4 separate regions of the Homo sapiens genome follow, and regions 1, 2 and 3 are each linked to region 4. Evidence: promoter capture Hi-C in 16 types of primary human blood cells and fetal thymus (Javierre and others, 2016). All regions are on one chromosome and are shown on one strand. Each heading gives the region's core, a stretch centred on a gene start or on the middle of the fragment in contact. The rest is flanking DNA. Distances are from core to core; before and after follow the strand shown.

Region 1 (3,391 bases), core at 508-3,007, 390 kb before region 4:
CTATTTGGCTAGTAGTTACCTATCGGACACTGGATATATGGAACATTTCCTTCATCACAAAACATCACACTGCACATGGCTATCTCAGTAGGACCAACCGAATGAGAACCTACGTTTTAGATCCAAAACAGTAATGAGACTTTGGCATACATCAGAATCACCCGGAGAGGCTTGACAGATCACTTGACCCCACCTCCAAAGTTTCTGATTTAGTAGGTCTATTTGGGGGCCAGAATTTGTATTTCTAATGAGTTCCTAGGCAAAACTAATCCTGCTAGTCTGGGGATCACATTTTAGGAATCACTGGTTTCTAGTTATCAATAATATTCCAAATCCCTGGCCCCACATGGACAAGCTTATCTCAGAGATAAGACCTAGGAATCCACATTATCACAAAAAACTCCATGATTTTGATTGTTTGAGAATAGGTTCAAGATGAATCACAGCGCAATAGAAATAGGGAAGTAACTAAAGCTATAAAGGCTAATTAGCTGTGAGGCCAGAGAAGGAACAGTGGTTGAGGGGCAGTTAGACTGCATGACACTTAGTTGTAGTATAAGCAGCTTTGCAGTTCTTTCACTCATGATGATGAGATACATAATGGGAATGGGTTGCTAAGTACTCAACTGAAGGCCATTGGATTTGAGATTAAGAAATTTAGGATTGGGGCTGGGCAGGGTAGCTCACGCCTGTAATCCCAGCACTTTGGGAGGCCAAGGTGGGCAGATCACCTGAGGTCGGGAGTTTGAGACCAGCCCGACCCACACAGAGAAACCCCATCTCTACTAAAAATACAATATTAGCTGGGCTTGGTGGCGCATGCCTATAATCCCAGCTACTTGGGAAGGCTGAGGCAGGAGAATCTCTTGAACCTGGGAGATGGAGGTTGCAGTGAGCTGAGATTACGCCACTGCACTCCAGCCTGGGCAACAAGAGCAAAACTCCGTCTCAAAAAAAAAAAAAAAAAAGAAAAGAAAAGAAATTCAGGATTGGCCTGGCACAATGGCTCAATCCTGTAATCCCAGCACTTTGGGAGGCTGAGGTGGGTGGATCACTTGAGGTCAGGCGTTTGAGACCAGCTTGGCCAACCAGGTGAAACCCCATCTCTACTAAAAATACAAAAATTAGCCAGGAGTGGTGGCACATGGCTGTAATCCCAGCTACTCAGAGAGCTGAGGCAGAAGGATCGCTTGAACCTGGGAAACAGGCTGCAGTGAGCCGAGATCATGCCTCCATGTCAAAAAGTGACTCCGTGTCTAAATAAATAAATAAATAAATAATTTAGGAGTGAGTTCTGGATAAGTTCTTCACATGAACAATGAAATTACCCAGACTGACAATACAACTTGCGAACAAATGATTTGTCACTTTAGACTATCTGGGAAGAGCAAAGCAAGCCTGGCAATATCATTATTTTTTTCTTTTTGAGATGGAGTCTAGTTCTGTCCCGTGGGCTGGAGTGCAGTGGCTTGATCTCAGCTCACTGCAACCTCCACCTCCTGGGTTCAAGCAATTCTCCTGCCTCAGCCTCCTGAGTAGCTGGGATTACAGGCGCATGCCACCATGCCCAGCTAATTTTTGTATTTTTAGTAGAGACAGCATTTCACTGTGTTGGCCAGGCTGGTCTCCAACTCCTAACCTCATGATCTGCCCGCCTCGGCCTCCCAAAGTGCTGGGATTACAAGCGTGAGCCACCGCACCCGGCCAAGCCTGGCAATATCTTAAATGAGTTGTCACCAAGCCTTATTTGACCACCTACATATACCTGGATTCCAGATCCCATTACCATTGCCTAAATTTAGCCCTTCATCTCTTACCACTTGAATTACTGCACAAACTTGTTTCTTTACCTCCAAATCCACCTGCAAAACATTACTCATGCTATGGTATTTCTGAAATGTATTTCACCATACTGTGTTGAGGGAAAGATATTTGGTGGCGATATACGACGCTTTTTACTAGCAGGAATAGACATTCAACATTTAATTGTGGTCAATGTTTAAATGAAACCCACAGATCAGCCTGGCCAACATGGTGAAACCCCATCTCTAGTAAAAATATAAAAATTAGCTGGGCATGGTGGCACACGCCTGTAGTCCCAGCTACTCGGAAGGCTGAGGCAGGAGAATTGCTTGAACCTGGGAATTCAGAGATTGCAGTGAGCCGAAATTGTGCCACTGCACTCCAGCCTCAGCGACAGAGCGAGACTCTGTCTCAAAAAAACAAAAAACAAAAAAACACAATTGTCCCTTGGTATATTCCAGAGGAGTGGTTTCATGACCCCTCCACCACCAAGCATACCAAAATCAGACAGAACCCTCCGTATTCATGGGTTTGGCATTTTACAAATACTGTATTTTTGACCTGCATTTGGTTGGAAAAAATCCACCTAAAAGGGGTTCAAACCCATGTTGTTCAAGGTTCAAGTGCTCAAGGATGACAGAATGTAGGGGTTAGAACAGGCCTTTACAAAAATCCTTAGAATTCACTGTTAAAATTCTCCATCCTACTGCCACCCTAGAACTCCATTTCAGTTGTCCTCTTATTTGCACAGGCTGCTAGATTCGACCAGGAAGTCCTACTCTGTATTCCCTATTACACCCTTAGTTATCAATTTATTTAATCACTATCAAAGCAACTAGATGTTAAGTTTTTCACAAAGTGCCAGCCTCCTCCCTACCTAGCCTACATCTTTTCCTATTTGGTACAATGCTGGGTGATCCACAAATAAAAAATTGTATTTTCAAAAATTTCTCAAAAGAATTCCTGCTAAACAGGAGAAATTTCAATTAGCTTAGAACTAAAATGGGGGAGAAAACCTTCATGCTACTGTAGCAATCACCCTCAATCTGCCCTCCTTGGAAATAGCTAAGTTTAGGGAACCGTATAGCACCAATATCACAACCTATCAATATGGACAAAAAATATGCTATACCCATTCATCTAAACTTAAAAAATTTCACTCACAATCTTAAATTGATCATTTTTTTTTTTTGAGAGGGGGTTTTGCCATGTTGGCCAGGCATGAGTCACCACGCCCAGCCCAGAACATTTTTTGAGACAGTCTCGCTCTGCCGCCCAGGCTGGAGTGCAGTGGCGCCTCAATGGTGTGATTACAGAATTGAGCCACCTTGCCCGCCCCAGAAAATGTTCTTAACAGAAGCTTTGAATTAGAGATGAGGTACAACGCACAAGGTCTGATACCTAAGCAATAAGGACTGATGAAAACCTGTTCAAATGTTTGAACACAAAATATTTAAAATTATAGCCAGGTGACACACAGTGACACACACCTTAATACTGGCACTTGTGGAGGCCAAGGCAGGCATATCACTTGAGCCTAGGAGTTCGAGACCAGCTTGGGAAACATGGAGACCCATCTCTACAAAAT
Region 2 (3,123 bases), core at 322-2,821, 260 kb before region 4:
AATATCTCAATAATGTTAAAAAAATTTCCAGTTGAAAAAGTATATTCCCATATCTGTGTTGTTCTAAACCTATTTAAAAATCCTCTAGTAACAGAATTAAGTTGTGTGTTTTTTTTTTTTTTTTTTGAGACAGAGTCTCGCTCTGTCACCCAGGCTGGAGTGCAGTGGCGTGATCTTGGCTCACTGCAACCTCTGCCTCCCGGGTTCAAGCAATTCTCTTGTCTCAGCTTCCTGAGTAACTGGGACTACAGGCATGCACCACCAAGCCTGGCTAATTTTTGTATTTTTAGTAGACATGGGGTTTCACCATGTTGGCCATGCCGGTCTCGAACTCCTGACCCCAAATTATCCACCCACCTCGGCCTCCCAAAGTGCTGGGATTACAGGCATGAGCCACTGCACCCAGCCATCAGAATTGAGTTTTGAGGCCAGGCGTGGTGCCTCACACCTATAATTCCAGCACTTTGGGAGGCTGATGTGGGAGGATCGCTTGAGCCCAGGAATTCAAGACCAGCCTGGGCAACATAGTGAGACCTTGTGTCTACAAAAAATAAACAAAATTAGCTGGGCATGGGGATGCGAACCTGTAGTCCCAGCTATGTGGGAAGCTGAGGAGGGAGGATCACGAGCCTGGGAGGCAGAGGTTGCAGTGAGCTGAGATTGTACCACTACACTCCAACCTGGGTGACAGAGCAAGACCCTGTCTCAAAAGAAACCCCAAAAAACAACCAAACAAAAAAAGAAAAATGATTGAGTTTTAAAATTAAAATTAAATAAAATCCAAAATTTAGTTTTTATTCCAGTGCATTAGCTATTGTTTAAGTGCTCAATAGCTACATGTGGCTAGTGGCTATCATATTGGGATGCACATTCTAGATCATTCTATTTTGTAGAAATTAGATGTGGTGAGACTTCTGTGACTGCATGATCTTAAAAATATAAGGAATAAGATTGTTGACCACCATTTCTTTTTTTGTATACAGTTTACAATATCATGAAGGAAGGGCTGTTGAATTGTAGCACAAACCTGAACCTGGTCACTGACTGCATGGAACATGCTCTGACATCGGTGCATCCGCGAACTCGATATTCAGCTGGCTGGGATGCTAAATTTTTCTTCATCCCTCTATCTTATTTACCTACATCACTGGCAGACTACATTTTGACTAGATCTTGGCCCAAACCAGCCCAGGCAGTCTAAAGAAAACTGGGTTGGTGCTTCTTGGAATGAAGGCAAAAATCTGAAATTGTTAGTGTCTCAGTAATCCTGATTTAGAACCCAGGCTTTTTGTAACAATGTGTTTTCTTGCCTAAATTCATTTATCTGGCATCATCAGAGTACTAACATGTTTATATTTCAGATATCCAAAGCTTACCACTTTAGGTGATGAATCTTTACTATTTTAGCCCTTTTTTGATGAGACTATTTGTCTAAAGTGAATCATTTGTTCTTGCCTTATTAAACAGAGTAGATGGAAAACAATTTAACCTATTTTGAAGTCATTTCTTTATGAATATGAATAATTGTTCTATGCTTTAATAATCTATTGTGAGGAAACTACTAAGAAATATGTTGGTGTGTTTGTCCTTACTTGAAATGGGTCTGTATTATGGTACTTTTAATAAATATTTGATTTTTCTTTCTCTTCTCTTTTTGTCAGCAGTCTTTTTTCCCCAATATATTTCTTCCTTTTTTAAAAAGAAATTACTTTTTAAATTTTAAATCAAAATAATGTTATACATATATAGCTAAAAATTCAATTAATATTCAAAAGCTTAAAATGAAAAATGGCAATCCTTGCCCTTATCCTCATCCTTCATTGCTGCTCGTCAGAGGCAAATGGTCTCAACTTTTAGCTATTTCTTCTGGTATTTATCTCTGAACTTCTAAATGATATACTGTTATTTTTTATTAATTTTAGCTATTCTCAATTGACTTTCTGTTATGGTGCAAATTTGGCTTTTTTTTACATCACTTTCCTGCCCATTTCCTTTATCCTTATAGTTTGAATATAATTTTATCACATTTCTGGTTAAATGAATAGTGTTTATATAATTAAGTATGTGAATATTATTAACTATTTAATCAAGTATTTTTCTTTTATAGTAACATTTTTTGTTTTTCTTGGAGTTAATTATTGCCTTGCTTTTTTGCTTGCAAAGGTTTTTATTTACCTTAACCTTTTTTTGGTTGTTCTCTCAGATCTGTCACTACCAGTAGTGTTCTCTAAATAATTAAATAGATTATAGACTTATTCAGTCTATTTCAACCCCCCAACCCTCCTGTCCCTGGAGATTTCCCTCTCACTGCTTTCTTTTTTTTTTTTTTTTCTAATTGATCATTCTTGGGTGTTTCTCGCAGATGGGGATTTGGCAGGGTCATAGGACAATAGTGGAGGGAAGGTCAGCAGATAAACAAGTGAACAAAGGTCTCTGGTTTTCCTAGGCAGAGGACCCTGCGGCCTTCTGCAGTGTTTGTGTCCCTGGGTACTTGAGATTAGGGAGTGGTGATGACTCTTAACGAGCATGCTGCCTTCAAGCATCTGTTTAACAAAGCACATCTTGCACCGCCCTTAATCCATTTAACCCTGAGTGGACACAGCACATGTTTCAGAGAGCACAGGGTTGGGGGTAAGGTCATAGATCAACAGGATCCCAAGGCAGAAGAATTTTTCTTAGTACAGAACAAAATGAAAAGTCTCCCATGTCTACTTCTTTCTACACAGACACGGCAACCATCCGATTTCTCAATCTTTTCCCCACCTTTCCCCCTTTTCTATTCCACAAAACCGCCATCGTCATCATGGCCCGTTCTCAATGAGCTGTTGGGTACACCTCCCAGACGGGGTGGTGGCCGGGCAGAGGGGCTCCTCACTTCCCAGTAGGGGCGGCCGGGCAGAGGCGCCCCTCACCTCCCGGACGGGGCGGCCGGGCGGGGGGCTGACCCCCCCACCTCCCTCCTGGACGGGGCGGCTGGCCAGGCGGGGGCCTGAGCCCCCCACCTCCCTCCCGGACGGGGCGGCTGGCCGGGCAGGGGGCTGAGCCCCCCACCTCCCTCCCGGACGGGGCGGCTGGCCGGGCAGAGGGGCTCCTCACTTCCCAGTAGGGGCGGCTGGGCAGAGG
Region 3 (3,318 bases), core at 165-2,664, 330 kb before region 4:
GAATGAAAATTACAGCCTGAAGATTTCCTTCATTTAACGCTGCACAACTGACTCAGAAAGGCTATCATTTTAAGAACTTTTCATTACCTCCTCCTAAGTTTTCTACAGAGATATGTTTTAACCAGAATTTAAAATTAGCCTTCACAGTCGTTAATTTCGACGCTGAGGATAAAAGGATTTATTTCAATCCTGGGTTTCACACAATGATGCAGGAACTATTCCAGCACACTAGAAGTATCTCAGCACCACCAACCCATAAACAAGTTATCCGACCTAGGACGACTCTGGGGCCCAGTAGGACACATTTACCACCAGCACACATCTCATCCAGACATGTGATAAAGGCACAATGCCAAGCTCTGCTAACTAAAACCTTGATGCAACTTGCTGGCTGGAGTTTCACAAATGCTCCGGGCTCCTTGGCCTGTGTCATCTAGTTCCAATAGGTAAGAATCACTGAGCCCATTCCCTGCTGAGTTTTCCTATGTGAGGTGGGGGTTCCACAGGAGAGCTTCTTTTGAGGCGACAGGCATAACATAGAAAGCAAGCTAGGGTACTTTTAACGTCCACGAATCTTAAAAATATTATTTTTACTCCAAATCCCTAAAGAAGTATCTCCAGGATAGTAATTTTACGGTCTATCCTCCTTGGTAAAGCTGCAACCCCATCCTCCTAAAAAGTGTATTTCCCCTTGGTCATTTTGCCCACCAAATGGCTTTAGGGTTAATTTTAATTAATGGCAAGGAGGGTAGGGAAACCTACCTGTCTCAGCCTGGGGCTGCGGCAACTCCTGCTCTGTAGCAGGGACGGTTTCTGTGGCTTCGCCGGGCATTTCTGAAGGAAGGGAATAAAAAGGAGGCCTAAATTGATTGGGATACATTCACTTGCCCAACCCGGAGATAAGTATTCTTAAAAACTCCGAGGAGGGCTGTTAGAAAAAAATCGTGAGGGTGTTTGGTGACAACCTTCCCCAAAGCACCTGGGAATAAGAGGTAAATATGATGTGACCCTCACGCCTCTATCAAGGCCAGCAATTCCCACTGCATTCTCAACCCGAGGGAGAGGATCCCGGGCTGGCTCTCGATCATGGGAGACTTCAGACGCTACTGTGAACCCCCTCCACTCCTAATACTCACACTGGCTGGGCTGGGGCCTCCTGGACTACGTTTGCCGACTTTGGGGTACCAGGAGGGGAAAGACGGTGTTTTAAGTCCAACACTTGCTTGTCACAGGGAGAACGGTGTTACAGGTTCTAAGGCTGTGACCCCTTACCCTTTTCTGGATCCTGTGAAGCAGTTCCCAAAACAAGACGCACTCCTCTTCCGCCCTCAACACTGCAACTGCTCCCATCTCTGCAGGCTCGGATTCTGGGCCCGCCCCGCAGCCCTTCTACCCTGCTTTTGCCAGGACACCAACCGCAGACCCCATTTTGTCCGGAGGCCCAGGGGCGAGTAGGAACCCTGTGGCCCAGTAAAGCCTCCAACTCTCCTTAACTCTCAGTCCCCGGGGCGGCTTAGCCCGAAAGAAAGGCGGATGGCTGCGGATAGACAGTAGCGGCACAGAAAGTACTTACTGTGCAGGGAACGCGGAACCAAGATGGCGGCAGAAAGACCGAGCGAGAGCGTGACCCACGCCTGTTGCAGAAGGAAGCCTGGAGCGGAGGGGGTGGGACTAGGATCCGATTCCGGGTCAAGAGCTGCCGGCAGCCACTTCCTTTGACGAGTGACTGTCAGGCCGTTCCCACGGCGGGGGTGGTGACAAGGACTAAAGGGTAAGAATTTAGAACGGGACGCGCAGGCCTAGCAGGAGCTCTCTGCGCGGACCCACGCAGTCCTCAGAACTAAGCAGACTCCGCCCTCCGGTCCGCGAAGTGGCGACTGCGGTATTAAGTCGACCTCGCGATTTCTCAAATAGTGCAGGAAGAAGACATTAAATAGCGAATGCTAGAGACTGCATTCACAACATTGGAGGGTGGAAGTGACTTAGGCTAACCAGTTATTTTTGGAACACACGATGTGAAAACATTTAAAAGCTGCTGGACCCTCTCCCCCCCCATCAACAACAACAAAAAAACCCATTTTAAAACTTGAGAGATGTGATGGGTCACATATAACTTCAGTTCAGATTATAAATTTAATTCGATTTTTCTTGTTCTGTTCAATGACTAGAGAGACTCAAACGATGTCACCAGATGACAGCAACTCATGCGTGTTAAACTCTTCGTAAAACAATGTTAGCTGTACCCCCGCCCCCCCCCCAAAAAAAACACTTCTTGTAACCAAATTCTGTAATTATGTTCCAACCTTGTATGGATAACGTAATCCAGCTAAAAACTCCTCTGTCTCCCTAAATAAATGAAATCGTAACTTCTCTACTTCTGAAGGCTGACTCCATTCTTTGGAGGTTTTCTGGTTGGTCCATCCTCACACTGCCCTTGAATAAACTCTTTAAATAGATTCCGGCCCTTTTGATTGTTTTAGGTTCACGACAATTTAGCCGATGTTGAAATTATAAAGCTGCAGATTCTCCTTCCCAGAAAAAAAGAACATAGGCACATATACAATTCCTTTGCTTGCTATTTTGGGCACTTCTTGGATTTTTTTTTTTTTTTTTTTGAGTCGCTCTGTCGGCCAGGCTAGAGTGCAGTGGCACGATCTCGGCTCACTGCAATCTCCGCCTCCAGGGCTCAAGCAGTTGTCCCGCCTCAGCCTCCCGAGTAGCTGGGATTACAGGTGTGTGCCACCACCCCCGGCTAATTTTTTATTTTTAGTAGAGACGGGTTTCACCATGTTGGCCAGGCTGGTCTTGAACTCCTGACCTCAGGTAATCCGCCTGCCTCGGCCTCCCAAACTACTGGGATTACAGGCGTGAGCCACCATGCCCAGCCTGTTTGTTTTGTTTTTGGGACAGTCTCACTTTTATTGCCCAGGCTGGGGTGCAAAGGCACGATCTCGGCTCACTGCAACCTCCCCTTCCCGGGTCAAGCGATTCTCCTGCCTCAGCCTCCCGGGTAGCTGGGATTACAGGCATGCGCCACCACGCCAGTCTATTTTTTGTATTTTTAGTAGAGACGGGCTTTCTCCATGTTGGCCAGGCTGGTCTCCTCCTGACTTCAGGTGATCCGCCTGCCTCGGCCTCCCAAAGTGCTGGGATTACAGGCGTGAACTACCGCCCCTGGCACTTCTTGGATATTCTAAGCTTATTTATTCTAGGTGTCTGGGACCCCACCTTAAACCATGCTTTGTACAACTGTATTTTTGAAAAGTAGAATGTAAAATCAGTGTTGTGTTAATGAAAAGCCTCCCATATCTTCCCACA
Region 4 (3,325 bases), core at 771-3,270:
AGCCAGGAAGAAGGTGAAGGGAATGAGCTTGAGGGTGAGGTGGGAGCCTGTGACCTCTCCAGCCACATATCCACAGCCAGAGGCACCCATATGACACTCACATAAATCTCCTTGTTTTCATAGCGAAGCTGAAGATTCTTGAGCAGTGACTCCTCCACCAAGGGTTCCAGGAGGACAAGATCCTCCACCCCCACAGAACCTTCCAGGAGAGGCATGTCCAGAGGGGCCACTGATCCTGGGAATAAGAGGCACAGTTTGCTGATGTCCACTCAGCTTTAGGGGCCAGTAACTGTTTGAGGGGAGGATGGCAGAAGGACCAAAAGAGCCTTCCTCTCTTCCTACCCTGGCCCTAAAGAGAGCCCCCAACCTAGGAGAGGCCTCTGGACCAGCCCAAGCTAATAGGGAGGCTGAAACTCTCAGCAGGAGGTGGGGGAGATCCTCTGCTGCCTGGGTTACAGTTGGTGGGGGTGGGGCAGGGGTGGAACAGGAACACCTTCCTCTGACCACCAGGGGAAGGCAGGCACCCAGTGGGCTACAACTGGGGGAGCAGAGTTGTGACTGAAGGAGAGAGGGCTGAGGAGGAAAGTGTAAGCAAAGACTTGTGCTGCCGCCAGGTACAGAAAGCCCTCTCTCTCCTACAATGGGCCCTGGCCAGGGTCCAGACTCCCCATCTACCCCCAGTGCTTCTTCTCAACACCTTACCTCTCACAGCCCCTATTAAAGACACCCAACCTACCCATAACCATTTCAGAAGTTCTTCCAAAGGTCTCTCCTTCCCTGTCATTGCTACAGTGAGCTTCATTTTTAAAATGGGAACTTGACAAGGCAGAATTATAGAGGATAGAGGCAGGATTCCTCCATAAGAGATTGGAATTTCCCAAAGAAAATGAAAGTGGGGTTTGCTTCCCCAACAAACAGGCAGTTGTCAGGACCTCTGGATGTGCTACATGTCTGTCTCTATTTTTCCATCTCTAGCTTTTACACCCACTCCTGTAAACTTCTGGCATGGACTTTGCCCCAGAGGGACACACCTAGCTTCTTGCGGGAGTGGGCAAGGAGGAGCACAGTTGGAACTACAGGGAGGGTGGTGGGGCTTGGCCCCCATGCAGTAGGCACATGGCAGGTGTTCCCTAAGGAGGAAACCTGGCCCTCCTCAGTCTTTCCTGTGAGACTGAGTAGGCAGAGTGGCCAGGCACAGGACAGGATTATTAGTACAATGGTCAAGGCCACTCCTGAACAGGAATGAAAGAGACACATCCTCCTATGCTATTGCATCTCTGAACCCGGGTGGAGGAGCGGAGGAAGGAGGAACGGAAGTGGGGCAAGAAGGGGCACAGGCTTCCTTCTCCCTTCACTTGGCTTTCCCCAAGCTCTAGGAAAAGAGAGCACTTGTCACTTACCAGAAGGACACAACTGAGGAAGCAATAAGAATATCAATAATAGCAGTCTCTAGGAATCATGCAGCGTTTACCACGAACTGGGCAGGGCTCTAAGCACTGTACATACACTAATTCATTTAGTGCTTACAATATCCCCATGAAGTAGATACTATTTTTGTATTTTCTAGATTTTACAAAAAGCTAAGTCTTTTAACTAACTTGGCAGGGAAGGGTGAGAAGCAGAAGGTGGGTTGGGAGCAGTCATCTTCTTTGGATTTGGATTTGAAGGGAGTGGGAATGTGACTGGTTGAGGGTGGGGAAGGGAAAAAGGCAAGAGGCCCCAGATGGGGCGCCCCAAGGTGTTAAAGAGAAGCAGTGACAGGTCAAGGCAGGACTCACCCAACACTGGAACTAGGGTATAACTTCACTGTCCTTGGAGAATGGTGGATGAAATCTCAATTTGACAGGAATGGGGCATAAGAGTCCTGGCCCCAGGATGGAGAGGTGGCTTAATGGGAGCTGTCCATGGTGCAAGGAAGCTGGGAAAAAGGCTGCCCTCCTCTTGCCAGTGTCCACTCTTCTGATTTTCCCTTTTGCTGCCTCTTCCAGCCCAGGCTCCCTGTGCCAGTCAAACCAGGAGAGGCCGGAGATGGCTGATCAGCACAAAGTCCAGACTGTTCCTGCTGAGGGTGTGGCTCACTTAACCCTTCACAGGCCTGAAGCCCCAGAGGGAGACACTCAAGCTCCCTCTAGGTAGGAAAGGGTATCTGGCTGGCGTTAGCTGAGAGGCTTAACTAAAGGAGGGTTCTTGCTCCATTGTCTCCCAAATTTGGAAATGAAAGCTGGAAGAATGGAATTTATAGCCAAGGAAAATATTTCCCAAAGAGAAGTCAGGAATTTTGTCAAGGACAGGTAGGGCCAAGTGCGGTTGCTCATGCCTATACTCCCAGCACTTTGGGAGGCCAAGGCGGGAGGATCACTTGAGCCCAGGAGTTCGAGACCAGCCTAGGCAACATGGCGAGACACGTCTTTACAAAGAGTGTCTTCCTAGCAAAAAAACAGTACCTCCCTCATACCTACTCTTCCTATCTTATCGGGAGTCAGGGGATGTTAATGAGATTACTTGGAGAGCTAAGCAGACAAAATCCCCAAATTCTTCTCCACTTCCCTTCCCCCATGAATCAGACCCTATCATAGAGACCCAAAGATTAAAGTGATTAGTAATAATACCTCACATGTGTATAGATGTCCCAGTTTCATTGAACTCCCCCTTGCATTGCCTCACTGAATAGCACCACCCCGAGGAAGGCAATACAGATACTCCATTAAAATGGAAAACTAGGAACAAACACCAGACTCAGAGAGGTTACACAATGTGCCCACAGTTCCATGCTAGTGCATGGCAGAACCAGGAACAGAATGCAGCTCCCTAAGTTTGCCAAAAGTTGCAGCCCAAGTTCTGAAGTTTCTAATTTTAATTCGTCAGCACTAGGATACTGAGTAAGACCCTGAGCTAATGTAATAGCTCCCTCTGATAGATAAGAAGTACCCCTTCATCCAGCCAGGAAAATTCCTAAAAACAGCAAGCCCCCTCTGCCTACCATCCTCTCTCCCAGGCATGCAGAAAGAACAAATTAGGTAATTATAGACACTTAACTGAAGAGAGACTTGATTCTCCAACTCTCAGCTATGGCTGCTTGGTGCAAGGTCCAAACTCTATGGCTCTCACAGAAGCACTCTGCGTAAGCCTGGCACATCAGCAGTTCTATTATCAACCTGCCTTTACATAATTTATTGATCTACTACATATATTTGAAGGTGGAGGGGGGCAAGGAAAAGAGAGAAAGCTGAGTGGAAGTGACATCAAAACATAATGCTATGTGTAGGTGGAGCAGTATCCATGTCCTAGAGGCAGAAGTGACAAATATCACCTATTTACCAGTGGA

The links. Contacts are between HindIII fragments. The CHiCAGO score rates a contact against its expected background, and 5 or more counts as called.
Region 1: a fragment that was not itself captured here is called in contact with the fragment with the promoter of MYO1A in region 4 in 1 of 17 cell types (M2 macrophages); the score reaches 5.0 in M2 macrophages.
Region 2: a fragment that was not itself captured here is called in contact with the fragment with the promoter of MYO1A in region 4 in 2 of 17 cell types (M1 macrophages and M2 macrophages); the score reaches 6.6 in M1 macrophages.
Region 3: a contact is called between a fragment that was not itself captured here and the fragment with the promoter of MYO1A in region 4, in 1 of 17 cell types (M2 macrophages). The highest score is 6.1, in M2 macrophages.

The regions. Positions count from the first base shown.
Region 1 is chr12:56,658,681-56,662,071 of GRCh38, forward strand. No RefSeq gene overlaps it. Among named protein-coding and RNA genes, the nearest start is that of ATP5F1B, 14 kb to the left of the region's middle. RefSeq lists silencers at 1,791-1,991, 3,103-3,152. The HindIII fragment of the contact is 2,808 bases long and covers 354-3,161 here.
Region 2 is chr12:56,786,142-56,789,264 of GRCh38, forward strand. HSD17B6 (hydroxysteroid 17-beta dehydrogenase 6) reads left to right here. Exons shown (of 5, transcript NM_003725.4): 5 at 984-1,649. The coding sequence ends at 1,201. Among named protein-coding and RNA genes, the nearest start is that of HSD17B6, 24 kb to the left of the region's middle. The HindIII fragment of the contact is 404 bases long and covers 1,370-1,773 here.
Region 3 is chr12:56,723,690-56,727,007 of GRCh38, forward strand. It overlaps NACA (nascent polypeptide associated complex subunit alpha), which reads right to left and starts at 1,610. Exons shown (of 9, transcript NM_001365896.1): 1 at 1,574-1,610; 2 at 763-834. The coding sequence starts at 832. RefSeq lists enhancers at 237-356, 1,416-1,465, 1,556-1,685. The HindIII fragment of the contact is 3,564 bases long and covers 1-3,196 here.
Region 4 is chr12:57,048,109-57,051,433 of GRCh38, forward strand. It overlaps MYO1A (myosin IA), which reads right to left and starts at 2,021. Exons shown (of 28, transcript NM_005379.4): 1 at 1,779-2,021; 2 at 102-235. The coding sequence starts at 215. The HindIII fragment of the contact is 12,080 bases long and covers 1-3,325 here.